Regions from separate parts of the Homo sapiens genome. Here region 2 is linked to region 1. Evidence: promoter capture Hi-C in human tissues and cell types (Jung and others, 2019). All regions are on one chromosome and are shown on one strand. Each heading gives the region's core, a stretch centred on a gene start or on the middle of the fragment in contact. The rest is flanking DNA. Distances are from core to core; before and after follow the strand shown. Region 1 holds the start of COMTD1 (catechol-O-methyltransferase domain containing 1). Region 2 overlaps KAT6B (lysine acetyltransferase 6B).

Evidence for each region. Contacts are between HindIII fragments. The study calls those that stand out against the background at their distance.
Region 2: a contact is called between a fragment that was not itself captured here and the fragment with the promoter of COMTD1 in region 1, in 1 of the 25 tissues and cell types used here (aorta).

What each region holds. Positions count from the first base shown.
Region 1 is chr10:75,233,738-75,238,880 of GRCh38, reverse strand. It overlaps COMTD1 (catechol-O-methyltransferase domain containing 1), which reads left to right and starts at 2,924. Exons shown (of 7, transcript NM_144589.4): 1 at 2,924-3,046; 2 at 3,138-3,265; 3 at 3,509-3,614; 4 at 3,703-3,821; 5 at 3,889-3,943; 6 at 4,138-4,271; 7 at 4,656-5,143. The coding sequence starts at 2,953. The coding sequence ends at 4,808. RefSeq lists silencers at 2,676-2,970, 3,006-3,145, 3,306-3,385, 3,516-3,805, 3,966-4,195 and 1 more and an enhancer at 4,826-4,975. The HindIII fragment of the contact is 14,083 bases long and covers 1-5,143 here.
Region 2 is chr10:74,879,296-74,884,438 of GRCh38, reverse strand. All of the region lies in intron 3 of KAT6B (lysine acetyltransferase 6B), which reads right to left. Among named protein-coding and RNA genes, the nearest start is that of KAT6B, 55 kb to the right of the region's middle. The HindIII fragment of the contact is 7,129 bases long and covers 1-5,143 here.

The sequences.
Region 1 (5,143 bases), core at 1,675-4,174:
GAGCGGTCAGCGGCACCACCTGAGCGCAGGGCCCTCAGGCCAGCTCGAGCTGGGCCCTCGTCCCAGCAGAGGAGCCAAGAAGGCCTGTTCCCTCTGGGTCCCAGGGTTCAAGGGAGAGGTACGCGCGTTTCCTCTGTTGGCTGCAGGGTCTGGGCGGTGGTCTCTGAGCTTTCCTGCTCTGGAAAATGGGAACAAGATCACAGCCGCCCCCGGATCCTGGATGCATTGTGCCTGGTGCCCGGCAGGTCCTCAATAAAGGGGCCCTGCTGTTACTATTTTTACTCCTGGCAGCAAGGAGCGCCAGGCAGCGCCAGAACTCTAGTCAAGAGCATTTATTTAGCGCCTGCTGTATGCTCAGGCCTGGGAAGGAGAGACCAGCAGCCTCAGTCCTTACCCGCAGAATGAGATTCACGGTCAAGTTAGAGGCCAAGCGGGACGTAGAGGGTCAAAGAGTAAAGGGCAAGGAGCTTGTCCTCGAGCAGTGCTGCTAGCCCGGAGGCAAGTCCCAGGAGGGCCGAAAGGGCACGCATGCACGGAGACAGCAGGTTCTGCCCCCACACAGCCATGTGCTTCGGGGGCTGCCGGCTGGTTGGTCAAAGAACCAGCCCCACCCTGTCTCTGATTAGAGGCCGGCCCGTAGCCTCACCCCAGAGCTCCGCCTCCTCCTTCCTCGCTTCCGCTAGGCCCAAGGTTCCTGCAGCTCAGATCAAGAAACTGCAAGTTTCTGGCCTTCATCCTCAGCCAAGCCACTCTCTCATTAACTACTCAACAAGCTGGCCTCTGGGCCTCGCTCAGGTTGAGCCCCCGCCTGGGAAGCCCCCCAGTGGAGCTCAATGCCTAGTCAGCGTTGTTAAAATGGATTCTTGGCCGGGTGCGGTGGCTCACGCCTGTAATCCCAGCACTTTGGGAGGCCGAGGCGGGCGGATCACATGGTCAGGAGTTCGAGAACAGCCTGGCCAATATGGTGAAACCCCGTCTCTACTAAAAGTACAAAAATTAGCCAGGCATGGTGGCTGGCGCTTGTAGTCCCAGCTACTCAGGAGGCTGAGGCAGGAGAATCGCTTGAACCTGGGAGGCGGAGGTTGCAGTGAGCTGAGATCGCGCCACTGGGCTCCAGCCTGGACGACAGAGCAAGACTCCATCTCAAAAAAAAAAAAAAAAAAAAAAAAAGGCTCTTACAGCCTCCACCCCAGGGGACATCTGCAGTGCAGCAGGAAGATAACCGGCTGCCCTTCGGACTTTGACTCCTTTTAAAGGTAACATGACAGCTCACTAAGTGCCAGGATTTTCTCATTTGGTCCCCTGTGTAAGTCCTCAGCCTGGATTTTCTCATTTGGTCCCCTAGGAGGTTGGGACTATTCATAACGCCATTTCACAGAGGCAGAAGTCGTGAAGCTTAGGCCACCCGCCAGCTGTGTGTGACCTGCATCTCTGAAACCAGCTTCACTAAGAATACCAACCAGAGGCCAGGCACGGGGGCTCACACCTGTAATCCCAGCACTTTGGGAGGCTGAGGCAGGAGGATCACTTAAAGCCAGGAGTTCGAGACCAGCCTGGACAACATAGTAAGACCCCTTCTCTTTAAAAAAAAAATTTTTTTTTTTAAATTAGCTGGGCACAGTGGTGACCGCCTGTGGTCCCAGCTACTTGGGAGGCTGAGGCAAGAGGATTGCTGAGCCTGGGAGCTCGATGCTGCAATAAGCAGTAATCTTGCCACTGCACTTCAGCCTTGCCAGAGACCTTGCCAAAAAAAAAAAAAAGAACACCAACGCCAGGCACAATGGCTCAGGCCTGTAATCCCAGCACTTTGGAAGGACGAGGCAAACAGATCACTTGAGGCCAGGAGTCTGACACCAGCCTGGCCAAAATAGCAAAACCCGTCTCTACAAAAAATACAAAAATTAGTTGGGTGTAGGGGTGCGTGCCTGTAGTCCCAGCTACTCCAGAGTCTGAGGCAGGAGAATCGCTTGAATCAGGAGGTGGAGGTTGCAGTGAGACCAGATTGTGCCACTGCACTCCAGCCTGGGTGACAGAGCGAGACTCAGTCTCAAAAAAAAAAAAAAAAAGGACAGCGTCAGCGTCTTTCACCTCCTCCGGAGTTTGGCGCATGGTAGGGGTTCAATCAGTGTTCTCTGGACAGTGTTTCAACAGAACAACCTTGCAAGGGAGCTTCACCGGCTTTCTCCCCAAGATGTCTTCATTCCAACCTACCAACATAACAGCAGCTGCCACTTATGTATTGTGCTACTGTGTGCGAAGCTGTGGGATCTGGTGCCTTTTATGGTAAGATTGTAGGCCTCATTTTACAGGAAGGAAACTGAGGCTCAGAGAGACTGGCAGGACCAAGATTAGACACTCGTATCCATCTGGCCCCCAAAAGCAGGATTTTAACAGCTAAGAATATGGTCTCAGTTCCACAGGCCCACCCCAGGGCTCCTGAACCCCAATTCGAGGCTGCATGCCCTCAAACCAGTTCCCTCACTCCTTCAGCCTGATGCTTTGGGGCATCTTGTCCAGGAGGCCTTCCCCCTTTAATCTCTATCTCTTGTACTTGTGACTATCTTGTAACTTACACTGGCGCCCTCCATACACAATTCACATATGCCCCCAAGGGGCCTCAGAATAAATGGTGGCGAGGAGAAAAAAGCATTGGCAGGAGGGGAATGGAGGCAGGCACCTGGACTGCGGGCACAGGCGGGAAAATTCAGATCTAGGCGCTTGGCCTGCTCCCCGCAGGGGCGCAGTTCCCGGCGCGGCCACCAGATCGCGCCCGGCTCTCTCGGGCGGGGCTTGCAGTAAGGCTGTGTGGCCGCCAGATGATGCCCGAGACCGCGGCTCCGCGGGTAGTGCCCCGACAAGGTGGAGCCCGGCGGGCCCGCGAGTCCGAGACCTGTCCCAGGAGCTCCAGCTCACGTGACCTGTCACTGCCTCCCGCCGCCTCCTGCCCGCGCCATGACCCAGCCGGTGCCCCGGCTCTCCGTGCCCGCCGCGCTGGCCCTGGGCTCAGCCGCACTGGGCGCCGCCTTCGCCACTGGCCTCTTCCTGGGTGAGCAGGACCTGGTCCCGGCGGGCGGGTGGGCGGGCGCAGAGTAGGGCGCGGCGTGGCTCAGGTTAATCCAACACCCTCTCCCCGTCAGGGAGGCGGTGCCCCCCATGGCGAGGCCGGCGAGAGCAGTGCCTGCTTCCCCCCGAGGACAGCCGCCTGTGGCAGTATCTTCTGAGCCGCTCCATGCGGGAGCACCCGGCGCTGCGAAGCCTGAGGCTGGTCAGCAGGGCGCGGGACGGAAACGGGCGTCCCTCTCGACCCCTGCGGGTCCCACGTGGCTGTGTGACCTTGGGCTGGGCCCTGGCCCTCCCTGGGCTTCCGGCTTCCCTGGGCCGGGTGCGGTGGGCGTTCCGAAGGGCCAGTCCCCCAGGCCACGCCCAGAACCGCGCCCCTGGGGCTTGGGACCCCCAGGGCGAAGGTGGGTGACCTGCATGGCTGGTGCCACCCTCTCCTTTCACGCAGCTGACCCTGGAGCAGCCGCAGGGGGATTCTATGATGACCTGCGAGCAGGCCCAGCTCTTGGCCAACCTGGCGCGGCTCATCCAGGCCAAGAAGGCGCTGGACCTGGGTAGGGGCACGCGGCCGGGATCCCGGAGGGCCGAGGTTTCCGGGCCGACCCCCACTCTGGGCTGAGCCCGTCTGTGTCCTGGTCCCAGGCACCTTCACGGGCTACTCCGCCCTGGCCCTGGCCCTGGCGCTGCCCGCGGACGGGCGCGTGGTGACCTGCGAGGTGGACGCGCAGCCCCCGGAGCTGGGACGGCCCCTGTGGAGGCAGGTGAGCGCCCGCGCCTAGCTCTGCAGCCCCAGGCGGGGGCGCAACGGCTGACCCGCTCCCTCCGCAGGCCGAGGCGGAGCACAAGATCGACCTCCGGCTGAAGCCCGCCTTGGAGACCCTGGGTGAGCACCGAAGCGGGAAGGGCTTTGAAGCCATTCATTGCAAACGAGGCTGCTGTGTGGCCGAGCTGTGACTGGGCCTGCCGGGCAGGTTAAGGGCAGGGCCGGTTGTCACAGAGCCCGGGCCGGCCTGGGAGGGGCCTCAGGGCCGCCGGGGCCGCGGACTCAGCCGCACCTGCCCTCCCTCCCCCCGCAAGACGAGCTGCTGGCGGCGGGCGAGGCCGGCACCTTCGACGTGGCCGTGGTGGATGCGGACAAGGAGAACTGCTCCGCCTACTACGAGCGCTGCCTGCAGCTGCTGCGACCCGGAGGCATCCTCGCCGTCCTCAGAGTAAGGGATCCACTGCGGGGGAGGAGAAAGCACCCTGTCGGGCCGGGTCCCCATCTTTTCCCTTGACTCCTCTTATACCCCAAAGCCCCACCCAGTCCAGTCACGTAGGCTACACCCCCTCCGGGGCTCCGGCCCCGGTACCCAGGCTTTCCTCCGCTTTGGTTCTGTCTCCAGCTCTGGTCACCTCCTGCCCGGGCACCTCCCTCCGAGGCCCCGCCTCCCGCCCAGACACCTCCCTCCGAGACCCCGCCTTCCGTCTGGGCACCTCCCTCCAAGACCCCGCCTCCCGCCCGGGCACCTCCCTCCCAGTCCCCCGCCTTCCGCCCGAGCACCTCCCTCCGAAGCCCCGCCTCCCACGGCCCGGTTGGCCCCGCCCTCCCGCAGGTCCTGTGGCGCGGGAAGGTGCTGCAACCTCCGAAAGGGGACGTGGCGGCCGAGTGTGTGCGAAACCTAAACGAACGCATCCGGCGGGACGTCAGGGTCTACATCAGCCTCCTGCCCCTGGGCGATGGACTCACCTTGGCCTTCAAGATCTAGGGCTGGCCCCTAGTGAGTGGGCTCGAGGGAGGGTTGCCTGGGAACCCCAGGAATTGACCCTGAGTTTTAAATTCGAAAATAAAGTGGGGCTGGGACACACGACCTCCTGAGCCTCCGTGTGTGGCGCTGGATGGGGAAGGGAGGGAAGGCCCAGCACAGACAGCTCCTGCCTTCAGTGAAAGGGGCCTTGAGATTCGTCCCCTCCCTGGCGCCAGGTCTGTGGCCCAACTGCAGGAACCTCCAGCTGGCAGGAGGCAGGTTATAAAGTTTTAACTGGCCTGGCCACGTGTAATGGCCAGAGACCCCAGCACCTCGGGCTTGTCTGCCTCCTACAT
Region 2 (5,143 bases), core at 1,117-3,616, 350 kb after region 1:
AATAATAGATTTGTCTCATCACAATGAAAAATTTAAACACAGCCTAAGTCTCATCTATCTTCGGTTGCCAAAGCTAATAGCCTATGCAGAGGGCAATGCATTCTTAGAGTTGCATGAATCCTTTCTCCTGACAGATAAAATTTCTGGTTAATAGTCACTAAGGAAAGTAATTTTAACATAACCCTTTATGTCCTGGGCTTGACTAGAGCATACAAACAACACCTAGAAAATTTTCAACCCAGGGATTTCAAAAGCTATGCATACAAAACCAAAAACACCTAAGTCTTCTATGAGTTCAGAATTTGATGCTAGGTGGAAGGTGTCTATGAATATGTGAAGTGAGTATATATGTTGGAATAAAGGAACTGTCTAAGTAGGCTGTGTCTTTTTCTCTCCCATCTCCATGAAATGCCAGTGTCTCTTAGCAGATAAAATACAAACCATAAGGGAGTTAGAGAAAAGAAGTCTTCTATTCCTTTTATAGACTCCTAGGAGCACTGAGACTCATTCAACAGCACATAAGTATGAGTCCTGGAAAGCACAGCTTCAGCACCTCAATAGAAAAGTTTTTCCCCTCACAGTGAAGCAATGAGAGGGCTAAGAAGCACATACTTTTTAAAAATCAAAACAGAATTGGATGAGGATGGGCAGAAGGGTAGGCCTGGGGGCAGAGGACCAGGTCATCCAACAGTCTCCAGGTATAAAGTCTCAATTCTATACATTCATAATGTGTATTTGTGATGTTCCCTCTGGGCTGGCCACCACACTGTATAATCATAAAGTGAGCTTTAATTACCCAAGACCATTCACTAGCTCTTATGAAATGTGTTCTACCTGAAGGACTGCTCAAGAGGGTCACAAATGGCTCATAATTTTTTTCTGCTGGATCTTAAAGCCTACAACTTCCTACTAAAGGAAAGGTCAAAGGAAATACATCTGTAAAATACTGCCAGAGGGGAACAGGAGAAGTAGGGGGCAGCCAACAACTGGGACCTCGGTGATGCCAACCTTAACTGTCATTTCACCCTTTCCCCTTCAAACCATCCCATGGTCCTAAAACCTTTATAATCCTTTTATACTTGACACTATTGTCCCAGAAGAGCTGTTTGTCATCCTGAAATCAAACTGTATCTTCTCCTCTGGGAGCATGTACATTCTGTAATAAGACAGGTAATCCTCAGACAGCGGCAAGCAGAACCGTACTAGGCTCTGATACTGACCTTGACTTTACTGAAAAACGTTAAGTGGTAAAAATTTCATCAAGGTAAGGGAAGAACAAAGGAAGAAACTGTTTCCATGTTTTCCCTTCCATTTTACATGTGCATTATTTCAATCCCATAGCCAATTGTTTGTCATCTCTTTATAAACTTTCGGGAACTCAATAGAAAACAGTACATGAGTCACTCTCTCAAGAGCATACAAATGATGAGGAATACATTCCCATATATATATACTATTATTCACTGAAATTTTTACTTAGCTGTTTTTGATGAAGAAAGCCATATGGTCATGAAAAATACACTATAGGCAAGTTACTGATTCTGACAAAGCTTTCTTAAAATTCAGAAGAAACTATGTGAACCAAACAAACACGAACACATCAACCCTCAGAAAAGATGTTTAAAGAGCAATGCAAAATGTTTTAACTGGACTTTATCAGGCTTCTTAAATACTATAGAATTTCCTTACTGACACATTAGGGAAGAAATTAACTTTTAAAGACAATTGTTTAAGGTAAGCAATCTCACAAAATGTTTATCTAACAGAATCCAGCCATGCTGGCTACAGCATCTCTATTGACATACCTTTAAAAACCACAAATTATTAGGAAATAGGTCTGGAAAAACGTGGCCCATGTAGAAAAAGTCTTTAACAAAGAAAGGTTTATTTCCAAATTACATTAGTATTCACAAGGTGAAACAACTTATTATAGATGCACAGCATTAGTCTCATACACAATAATACCTTTACTAATAAGAGAATATGTCCAAATGTCACATTTCTTTTTTACAAAGTTTAATTACCAGAGGTGAGAACTGATAGGCACAGGAATGAGTTCCAGGGTATCAGATAAGAGGATGGCTGCAGAACGAAATTACTGTAAAATACTAACTAAAAGTCAAACATGCAAGAAAATATAAAATATGCATCAGACAGTTTTAGGATGAGGTTAAGGAAAAGAGTCAGTGAGCCAGATTAATACTAATAGCAAGAGGAAGAATAAGAGGAATCTCTGGTTGAGCAGGGAAGGGGAGACAGCAGGGAAAATCTTGAAGAAGGGGCAGAGCTTTCAGCTCTTAAGTGAAGTTAAAGTGGAAGATGGAGACTCCAGCAGCCCCAGCAGACACATCCACCTCAGGTGGAGGCGCAGCGGGAAGAGCAGGTTCCTTTTGACTGTATTCCCCCATCCCATGGCACCCACCAAGGGTGCTTTCTAGGTCAACCTCGGAAGGAAGCCTCTGGTGTCTAAAACTCCATCCCCAGCCAAGTGTGGTGGTTCACGCTGGTAATCCCAACACTTTGGGAGGCTGAGGCAGGAGGATCGCTTTGAGGCCAGGAGTTTGAGAAGAGCCTAGGCAACATAGCGAGACCCCAGCTCTATAAAATAATTTTAAAAATTAGCCAGGCACAGTGACATGAGACTGTAGTCCCAGTTACTTGGAAAACTGACACAGGAGGATCACTGGAGTCCAGGAGTTCAAAGTTACAGTGAACTACGATTACACCACTGCACTCCAGCCTGGGCAACACAGCGAAACCCCATCTCAATCAATCAATCTCCACCGCCATCTGTGTGCTGGTTAATGGCATCCTTGCAACACAGGGTTTAACACGAAAATTCTGCATGAGACAACATGCAATTGTTTTCAGTATAATCACTCAAAAAGTATCAATGAATGGTTTTAGATTCCTGTGTTTCAACAGAGGGTGGAGCACAGAAGGCATGGGGTGTTTGGAGATAGCCAGAAGCCAAAGGCAGGAGGCAAAGGGCAGTGAAATCACCACTACTGAGTGATGTACAGGGTACAGGCCAGCACCTTACTTTATACAGATTACCTCAGTGAAGCCTCACAACAACCTTATGGACGAGGTGAAAGGAGCCAACTGGGGACAACTCTGATCCTTATAACCCCCAAATCTTAGAAAAACGAGGCTGTCCAGTGAGAGTCCAACTATAAAACCAACAGGGCATGTTAGAGACACAGCCTCCTTAAGGAGGCTTAAAGATGGTTGGGCACAGTGGCTCACACCTATAATCCCAGCACTTTGGGAGGCCGAGGCAGGCGGATCCCCTGAGGTCAGGAGATGGAGACCAGCCTGACCAATATGGTGAAACCCCATCTCTACTAAAATGACAAAAATTAGCTGCACCTGTAGTCCCAGCTACTCCAGAGGCTGAGGTAGGATAATGGCTTGAACCTGGGAGGTGGAGGTTGCAGTGAGCCAAGACTGCACCACTGCACTCCAGCATGGAAGACAGAGTGAGAGTCCGTCTCAAAAAAAAAAAGAGAGAGTAAGATAAGGCCAGGAACAGTGGCTCACGCCTGTAATCCCAACACTTTGGGAGGCCAAGGCAGGAGGATTGCTTGAGCCCAGGAGTTCGAGACCAGCCTGGCCAACATGGTGAAACCCCGTCTCTACTAAAAATACAACAATTAGCTGGGCATGGTGGCGTGCGCCTGTAATCCCAGTTACTTGGGAGGCTGAGGCAGGAGAATTGCTTGAGCCTGGGAGGTGGAGGTTGCAGTGAGCCGAGATTGCGCCACTGCACTTCAGCCCAGGCGACAGACCAAAACTCCATCTCAAAAAAAAACATCAGTAAGACACACCTGAAGACCAGCAATTCCACTGCTAGGTATACAGCCAAGAGAAGTAAAAACGTGTCCACACAAAAATATGTACACAAATGTTCATAGTACTACTACTCATAATAGCCAGAAAGTAGAACCATCAATGTCTAATGAATGAATGAAATAAAATGTGGTATATCCATACAAAGAACTATTATTTGGCAGTTATAAAGAATGAAGTACTGATACATACTACAGCTTAAAAGAACTTGAAAAATTATGCTCAGTGAAAGAAGCCAGTGATTTTTAAAAAAGGCCACATACCATAGGATTCCATTTATATGACATGTCTAAAATACGCAAAGTTATAGAGACAGAAAATAGATGAGTGGTTGCCACAGTCTAAAGGAAGCAGGAAATGGGCAGTGATGCTAATGGGTATAGGATTTCATTTTGGGGTAAGAAAAATGTTCTGGAATTAGACAGTGGTGAATGACTTTGTGAACATACTAAAAACCACTGAATTACACACTTTAAAAAAGTAAATTTTACGATAACGCAAATTATGTCTCTTTTTTTTTAATCTACCTTTATTTTTATTATTATTTTTTGAGATGGAGTCTCACTCTGTCGCCCAGGCTAGAGTGCAATGGCACTCACAATGGATCTCAGCTATAGGTGCCTGTCACCATGTCCAGCTAATTTTTGTATTTTTAGTAGAGACGGGGTTTCACCGTGTTGGCCAGGCTGGTCTCAAACTCCTGACCTCAGGTGATCTGCCAGCTTTGGCCTCCCAAAGTGCTGGGATTACAGGTGTGAGCCACCATGCCTGGCCAGATCTACCTTTAGACAATAACGTATCTAAACACTGTCCATTAGAAGGGGAGACTAGTCAGCACCAGAAGCTTAGAAAGGAAGGAAAAAACAAAAACGACACTGTCTGGGGAGAAGCTTCAGTAACAGGGGGACTAAGAACCCTGAGCTCAGATTCATTGAAAGGCTTCTCAGAATGGCATTAGCACTACAGAATTAATCCCAGGCTGCTGGCAAAGTGAACAGAGTCCCCTGAATTTGGGTAATATAGTAGCCCTAAGATCTCTTGTCAGTCAAAATCTCACGAGCACCAAGCAAATCCCATGGAGCTCTTCTTCCAGTATCCTCCCCTGATCCAATATCATTTATTTCTCATTGTAAATTATTAAGCTGCCTTTCAGGCCTTTTTAAGCCCAGTCAAGGCAGCTCCTATGTCAAGAAATGACCTGCTTCCATATTTTTGGACAACAGAGGATATGGGGAAAGACTAGGATGGCCAACCATCCTGGTTTTCCTAGGGCTTTCCAGGCTATAGCACT